Linked DNA regions of Homo sapiens: regions 1 and 2 are each linked to region 3. The links are contacts of gene promoters, found by promoter capture Hi-C in human tissues and cell types (Jung and others, 2019). All regions are on one chromosome and are shown on one strand. Each heading gives the region's core, a stretch centred on a gene start or on the middle of the fragment in contact. The rest is flanking DNA. Distances are from core to core; before and after follow the strand shown. Region 1 overlaps LCLAT1 (lysocardiolipin acyltransferase 1). Region 2 has its middle 56 kb from the start of LBH. Region 3 holds the start of LCLAT1 (lysocardiolipin acyltransferase 1).

Region 1 (2,700 bases), core at 11-2,510, 160 kb after region 3:
CTTAAAATCATTATCATAAGCATGATTTAGTGAGCAATTATTAAACTCTTTATTGATACTTTTGATGTGATGAATGCATGTCTTAACATAATTTTAAGCACATAAAGGCAATGACCGATTTTTGAAGGATATAGGACAAATATGCAGTTTCTACATGTACAAATTGAACATAGCCATACCCCCTGCATTTTTCTAATAACTAGACTTTGTCACATATTACTTCCTCTATTTCTTAAAAGGTTTTAGTTTACTAATTTTTTCGTTCCTTCTTTAGTAATTGCATTTTTTTTTTTAGGTTTCCTTAATAAACCCTGTGAAAAGCAATGTGCTAAATAAATTATATGCAGGGCAAAGCAATACATTATAATTAGGCATTCCATTATTGAATTGATGCCTCTGGCTTCTCATGGTCTCTGTCTAATCCTGAAACAAATTCTTTTTGTGGACAAATATTAGCCTATAATAATTATTCATCTAAGCTAACGCTTTTCATTAAATCTCCTTCTGATTAAGATAGCTCCATAAGTACAGACTGATTTAATTTAACATGATTTATCCACTTGTGTATCAAGGTCTGGTGGAAATTGTTTTTAACACCAGAGGATTGTGAATATTAAGATCATCTTTATATTAACAGATCTCTCAGGTATTTAAGACCTTGTTGTTTGAATAGTTATATAAGCCTAGGTCTGATGTCACTCTGCTAAATTCAAGAGTATCACAAGTGCTGTAACAGGCTGTCATTAAAAACAATATGGATTCTGTTTTATATTATAATGTTGGAGCTTAGAGTTAGTACATTCTTGTGTTACTTGGGTTTGGGAATCAATTTTCATTCCAGCTGGTTGGTCCAACACATTTAATGTCTTTTCTGTTTTACCAGAAGTTCAGTGTTATTAAAAACAAGTAAATCATAGATATATATTCTGAATTAAGGGTCTCCACGGACATGAATATAACTTTTTAAAAAATTTCTTGGACTTAACTGTTATTATTTCCTCACCTGTTACCATCCTTGTGCTTTTCTTCAGTTTTTTTAATGCTGGCTATGTAATAGATACCAAACACTGAGTTTAATTTTGTTTTTTTTTCACTTCTTCCTTGATCATCTTTCCCCCAATATTCCTCCCTTAATTTGTTAAATTCTGGCTTCACCACTGCTCTTCTACTTTTAGCTTTTTTTTTTTTTTCCTATCAGTAGTCAACAGACTCATTAGCATTTTTCTTCTGGCCTTTTTGTCCATTTTTTTTCTTTTTGGTCCTTTTATAGTCTTTCCTGCTTCATTATATATGCATGAGAAAGTTTGCATTGCTCTATGTGAACATGATAAAGCTACATGAATTAATTCTATGAAACCAAAGCATATATTCTAATTTGCTGCAACCAAAAATTCTTGAAAATAAACTATATAATGTCCTAATTATAATTTAGCTCCAGTTTTAGGAAATCCCAGAGAACAGAGAGTGTGTGTGTATACACTCACACTTTCAGTTGAGGGTGAAAGAGAGTGCCATGAAAGCAAAAGGAAAGGCATTCTAGCATGTGGAACTTTCTGAGGTCCCATTTCCAGCCGTATCCTCTTTATTTTCAGGTTTCTAAGAGTTGTTAACTGTTCTTTCTCTCTCCCCCTGACTCTGCTCTGCCCCATGTGTGCTGTTCTCAGAAGACAGTGGTGTGTATGGTAGGACCCTGAGTCAGTAGGCTGAAGACTTACAGAAAGAAGGTACCTTGGAGTCAGGACTGGAAGCTGAGGGATAACAGGCCAAGTCAGGCTGAGATTCTTAACTGGTCTGGGCTCTGGGCATAGCAGCAAAGAAGAGCTTACTTCATCTGGGTCAGCTGAGGGAAGTGGTTCATGAACCGCTTAGCAGACCACTTGAACTAATAGGAGGAGGATGACGCAGAACTCAAGTGAAGTACTGTGGTCATTTGCAGAAGAGTTTCTCCTGGGAGGAGGTCAGAGTAGAAATGGGCGTATCATGCCCATAAGGCAGCAATTACTGTTTTCAGAGCCGTGTCTGCACTGATGGAAATGCCAGCTCTGTGAAATTTTTTTCAAGCTGGTGGGACTCCCATGTGTCCTGTGGATAGAAAGAAAAAAAATAGCACAGTAGAAAATGAAGCTTTCTTTTCTGTGAGGAAAAGACTTTCTGTGAGGAGGTTGGTGGTTCTATTTAAAGACACAGTCTTGAGAGTTGATTAGGAAACAAGTACTTCTACAGTAATACCTTAATTAATGAAGAGGCTATATTCGGGAATGTTTAATGAAGTTTCTGTTGTTATCAGAGAGAAAATGAAGCAAGCACAGGGGATTGCATTCCAGAATGTCAGGAAAGAATTTCAGTTTAAAAACAACACTGTATGTTTAACATCGTCAAATATGCCATAACTAAAGAGTATTTATATCACGGTTTGAAGGGAGAGGGAGAGAGGAGCATATCAAACTAACATAAGCTCCTTAAACCTATAAAAGGCACCTATCATCATTGAAGAGGTCTCTAGCTTCCTGTCCTTGTGGCGCCCTGTGCCTATTCAGATGTTGGTCATTTAGTGCTGTTGACCTACTGTTAACACCACATACATGTGACCTTGACTTCCCAGTATATCCTCTGAAACATTATTATCTCAGCTTGCCTGACAACTCATGAAGAACCCCAGTGCTTTAACAATAATATAGTGATTGCACAGATTGCAAGTAG
Region 2 (2,700 bases), core at 16-2,515, 160 kb before region 3:
CTCTATTCTTTTTGTGGGGACTGCAAAAAGAATTATTATATGTTATTGTATATAAGCTATATGTTATATTATCTTGCTTGAAGTTGTTCTGCAGCTCACTGATGCTGTTTACTGTTTTTCTTCAGTCTGCAGTGTCCAATTCATTCTTATTCCCATCTAGTGTGTTTTTCCATCTCAGACATTAGAGGTTCTTGTTTGTTTGTTTTAATCTCTACAAGTTTGATTTAGGTCTTCTCCTTTAAATATCTACCACCATCTCTTTAATATGCTCATGCATTCCTCTGTCTTCTCCATAAATATATGGAGTATATTTACCTCATTTAAAATACTGTTCTTGTCTATTCACCTGTGTCATTTCTGTATCTATTTCTATTGATTGATTTTTCTCCTCTTTATATTGTTTTCCTAGTTCTTTGACGCCTGATAATTTTTTATTGGATGCCAGATTAGTGCTGAATGCTAGGTTTCTTCTTTAAATGCTTTTGAGTTTTATTCTGGGACTCAATTAAGCTACTTGGAAACAACTTGATTTTTCAAGACTTGCCTTCAAGCTTTTTACCTGGGTCAAAGCAACTTTTAATCTAGGGCCAATTTTTCCCATTACTGGTCCAGGCAGCGAGGTGCCATCAATGATTTTTAAGCAAGACAGAGACATGATAGAATTTGCATTTAAGAAAACCACTCTGGCAGCATGAAGAAGATAGAGGGAAGAGATGGGAAGGACAGAGAGAGACCTAAGGCAGAGCTCACTGTTTATTCAGCCCAGGTAGTGAAGAAGGCAGGAGCTCAGGCTGCAGCCACTGTGGGGGTCTGAAATATCAGGATTGGAATCAATGGTGCTTGATGTGGGTAAAGTAAAATGGAGAAGGGTGAGTCTGAAATAAGCTGAGGTTTCCTCATTTCTGGGGGTTTCAGAGGAAATGAGATCCCACAGGAAGCCATTAACAGGGTTGCCAGGAGTTTCTAATCCCCCTTTTGTGAGTCTCTCTTTCATTACCAGGGGGCTGATGGCAGGAAGAAGAAAAGTCAGGACCACATAACCTAGCACTGCCCCTTTGGGTATCTGTGGGCCTTTTTCTCTGCTAGCTCAAAAGAATGTCAGTGTCCAAGACCCTGAGTATTGGTGATTTCTCCTGCTTATGACATCACAGACTACCTTCTGTTCAAGGAAAAAATTTCTCTCTGTAAGTGTACCATCTGGTGTCTGGTAGAGCTTGGCAAATTAGAGTCTTTTATAGCACTGTGTTTTTATAATGTGACATGAGGCCTCAAAATTACATTAATATCTCCAGTGCTGCAATTATATTAGTCCAGGGTCAAGTCCGTCTCTCTAATGAAACAGTGTTGATGAAGAATTTCATTCATAAAATGTTGAAATGGCCTCCCCAGCTCTCACTGAGCTAGCCAGAGAAATTTCCTCTAGGCCCATAGAGACTATGTTTAGTCTCAATCTGTGACCCATCTTCCATCTCCATTTTCAGAAGAAAGTGTTCCTTCATAAGCTAGGTATCATTTCCCCTTTTCTTTGATGCACCAACATGTTTTCTAGCAGGAGATCCAAGAACGTTCATCAAGTGTACGTTGAAACCATGAAACCTTTAGGTTTAAAGTGCACTTTGTCCACACCAGGGTAAAGAAAGAGTTAAGTTTAAAAAAAAAAAAAAAACCAAAAAGGAAAGTTTGACAAGTGAGACTCATTCACTTCCTCTCTCTCTAGCTCTCCTGGTTGTGAATTTGACCAAGAGTAAACTTAAGTGTCTTCAATTAACCCTTCCAAGTAAAAGAGTGCCTCCCCTGCTTCCAAGGGCCCAGGAAAGCCGTGAACTTGGGTTACTTGCAGGGGCTGTTGTTTCCCTTGGAATAAAAAATGTTTGAGGCTCAAACCTGACAGCCGAAGAAAAAGGGAATTATGAACATAATATCACAGTTTATACACTTAGCAAGTTTTGAGAGTGTTCTCTCATTTCCTCTATTTTCTGTGTGTCTTTCACACATGCATGCACACTGAAATAAGCCAGCCTAAATATATTGGCAAAGTCACACTCAGGGTGTGTTGTAGTTCTTAATTGAAGCCATTAGAAAACAAAAAACCAAAACATTCACTGACGACAACAGAGCTCCTCCTCAGGATTAAACTCTCCTCTGTTTTAAAAGGAAAAAAATCTGAAGCAAAGGGTTAAATTATTTGCACAATTAATGTCCTACAAATCATCTGAAAAAAATGCGAGCCCTAAGTCTGCCTTCCAAAGCTGGGAAAATGCTAACTATGGTCTCTGTCTCCAAACAGGCAGCTTTTAAATGATCCTAAATACCAAAACATGCCCAGGCTCTATTTCTTCAGTGCTGAAGCTGAAATTTACAACATAACCAACCTCAAAACATTTGGTTTCCAGCAGTGCCTGGATATGTCCAAGCCTGATTTTGCACAAGTCTAGGGTAAAAGAACAGAGGAATCCAGGAGAAGCAATAAATTGGGTGGACTAGGGAGGGGGTAAGAGAGGTAATTGGTGAGGATAGAAGAGGCATGAAGTCTAACAAAATTCAAATGGTAGCCTAAAAAAAAGTCTCCTAAAGGGTTAGAAAGAGACACTATAGTATTAAAAGTTATTTTTCAGAAAAAGAATAAAATTATGATTCACATACAAATATAAAAATGTACACGTTGAAGAATTTATTTACTCCTGATACCAAGAAACCAGG
Region 3 (2,700 bases), core at 104-2,603:
AAAAAAAAAAAAAAAAAAAAAGCAAAGAAAAGAAAAAAGAAAGAGCCCAGCACTGTCCTCTGTGGTTAGGGCGGTAAGGGCAACCTTGCCTCTTGGGCTGTATCACCGGACACACCTCACAATGCTAGAGCTCTCTGCAATGGAGCTGCAAAGGCTATGAGGAACCTCCGGCAAGCCCCCAAAGAACCACAGTAGAGCCCTTGAAGGTTCTGGAGCATAGCCAGGCCAACTCTTAACAACAACAAAAAAGAATTGGGAGATCTTTTATTCCAGTAATCTTATTTTAAAGGTAAAAAGGAGGCCTAAAGTCATAGGCATAATTGGCAGAATTGACTTTTGTTCTGGTGTTTCTCTCTGTAGTCATTCTTCACTTTCTGATGCAATTTTAGCACATCTTAAATATTAAAATGTTTTGGAACAAACTTAGAGAAATTATGAAGCTAATTTAGGAAAAGAGCACAAGAATCTTTGATTTACAGGCAATTTGGGGATATAATTTAGCTATATTGAAGCTATGCAGCCAACATGTAGATGGTCATTATTATTACACCATAAATTTTGTGAGGTCAGGAACCTTGTAATTTTAAAAATATTCACTCTGTGCTTTGTTGAATAAACGGATAAAACGTATAGACATACATGAACTACTGATGAGTGGCTGTGTGTGATGTGTAGCTATGTTTATTATTTTTAAGATTCTTATTGTATTTGTTGAAGGCCAAGTTGAGGAGGGAATTGCTTAAGGGAAATGAAAAGGGGTTTAACCACAGTCCCCACCATTCAGGGGCATGCAATCTAGTAGGTTAGGGGACAGGACAGACACACCATGATAGGTGATCGAGACCTTTTAAGAGCAGTGTGATGAAATTGCTATGGGAACTGGGAGGAAACATTTTCTAGGACTGGGGAAACACTGAGTGTGCTAGAAAAACTTTGTGCTCCTGATCAGGGAACCTGGGTTCTATAACTGCTTCTACTACTGATTTGTCCTGTGACTTCGCGCACCAAATTTAGGCTTGTAAATTAAACTCCCAGATTTCTGTTTTCCATTTTGCAGCTCTAGGGGTTGAATGAACCATTAGGTTCCCTCGGACAAATGACCTCCGCTAATTTCCTATTTCGTTGTTTTCTCACCCCTACACCCCACCGTTCCGTGGGTCCCTCCTCTCCAGGAGGCCAGACGAGGAAATAAGCGAGGCCTCTTTAAAGGAGCTCTCAAAGAAAGGTACCCGGGGTATCCCGGGCTGTGGAGCAAGCGCGGGGCGCCGGGGACCCGGGTTTCCCACGCAGCCGGGGACGCCGTTGCGTCACGGCGCCTGCAGCCAATCAGGACGTAGCCTTCCGGGACGCATTACTAGGGCGACGGCCGGACGCCTCCGCGTTACGGGATGAATTAACGGCGGGTTCCGCACGGAGGTTGTGACCCCTACGGAGCCCCAGCTTGCCCACGCACCCCACTCGGCGTCGCGCGGCGTGCCCTGCTTGTCACAGGTGGGAGGCTGGAACTATCAGGTGGGGTTACGGCGCGAGGAAAATGGCGGCGGCCGGGGGATCTCAGAGGTGCAGGAAGGGGAGCTGCAGCCCGGGCTTTTCCTCCTGAGCCATGGACCTTCCCCGGGCCGCGACCTCGGGTAACGGCCACTGGCCTGGCATTTGGGGTCCCGGTGCAGGTGGCGGTAGCGTCGCTGGCTCAGGTGGAAGGAGGCGCGGGGAAGCGACTCCTGGAGGCTGGCTGAGGCGTCAGGTGCTGAGGGGCCGCGCGAGCGGCGAGGGCGAGGTAGCCGCGGGGCGAAGAGGGTCCCGTCGGTGTTTACGCTAGGAGCGTCAAAACCTTCCTCCTGCGACCTCAGCGGGTCTGGGAGCTGCACTGTCCCGGAACGCAACCTGAGGTCTGACCCTGTTAAATCCCATGCACTAAAACGTCTCAAGTGGTCACCACGTGCGGGGCTTCGACGAGAGCCGTGGAGAGCAGGGGCTGGGGTTGTCTTCCCTGCGAGTCCTGCAGGCGCCAAAGGCCTGCCTGTAGGTGCCAGAGTGGCAGTGCCGCGAAAAGAAAGGTAGGCCCTAGCCAGGGCGGATGCCAAACCTGATCTTTAAGGTGTATCGTAGCTTCTAATTGCCCATTTGAAGAAAAGAAGTTGAAAGATAAGGCACTTAGATGTGGTTGTGGAGATGTTTTGCTTTCTTGTACTTCCCTGGTTCAGGTGGCTTCCCTGGAAATACTGCATCTGCCTTTAAAGTTCATTAACTGTGTTTCTTGTGTACATGGCAGTAGATGAGATTAGGGATTGAAGTCACTTTAAGTCCAAGAAAAGTATTGAAGATATGTGTTGAAGGCATTACCAAGATGAAATATTTATTCATATCATTAACTTATTTGTTCAAAGAAACGTCATCTCATGAAGTATAACTACGTGGGTTAGTTTTCAAAAAACTGACTTGATGAAAGCCCTTTTTGTAAAACATATTTTTTGAGAGTAAGTAAAAATACATCATCACTTTTTCGTTTAGGTTTCTGTTGCACATTGTACTTTGATATGCTTGATATGACAGATAAGCATAATGTTAACTGACTTTTGTTTTTGGTAGTAGGCTTGATTTTATGGAGTAGTACCTTGTTCTGTAACTGAGAAAAACGTAATAGCGCTTGTGTTTCAGTCATCAATAGCTGCAATCTCTGGAGTGCCAACTATGTGTCAG

What was found. Contacts are between HindIII fragments. The study calls those that stand out against the background at their distance.
Region 1: a fragment that was not itself captured here is called in contact with the fragment with the promoter of LCLAT1 in region 3 in 1 of the 25 tissues and cell types used here (liver).
Region 2: a contact is called between a fragment that was not itself captured here and the fragment with the promoter of LCLAT1 in region 3, in 2 of the 25 tissues and cell types used here (H1 embryonic stem cells and stomach).

What each region holds. Positions count from the first base shown.
Region 1 is chr2:30,609,908-30,612,607 of GRCh38, forward strand. All of the region lies in intron 5 of LCLAT1 (lysocardiolipin acyltransferase 1), which reads left to right. Among named protein-coding and RNA genes, the nearest start is that of LCLAT1, 160 kb to the left of the region's middle. The HindIII fragment of the contact is 4,699 bases long and covers 1-2,700 here.
Region 2 is chr2:30,286,457-30,289,156 of GRCh38, forward strand. No RefSeq gene overlaps it. Among named protein-coding and RNA genes, the nearest start is that of LBH, 56 kb to the left of the region's middle. RefSeq lists enhancers at 1,657-1,706, 2,598-2,700. The HindIII fragment of the contact is 8,232 bases long and covers 1-2,700 here.
Region 3 is chr2:30,445,893-30,448,592 of GRCh38, forward strand. It overlaps LCLAT1 (lysocardiolipin acyltransferase 1), which reads left to right and starts at 1,354. Exons shown (of 6, transcript NM_001002257.3): 1 at 1,354-1,491. RefSeq lists enhancers at 1,044-1,781, 1,085-1,154, 1,195-1,254, 1,465-1,584, 1,782-2,518. The HindIII fragment of the contact is 9,254 bases long and covers 1-2,700 here.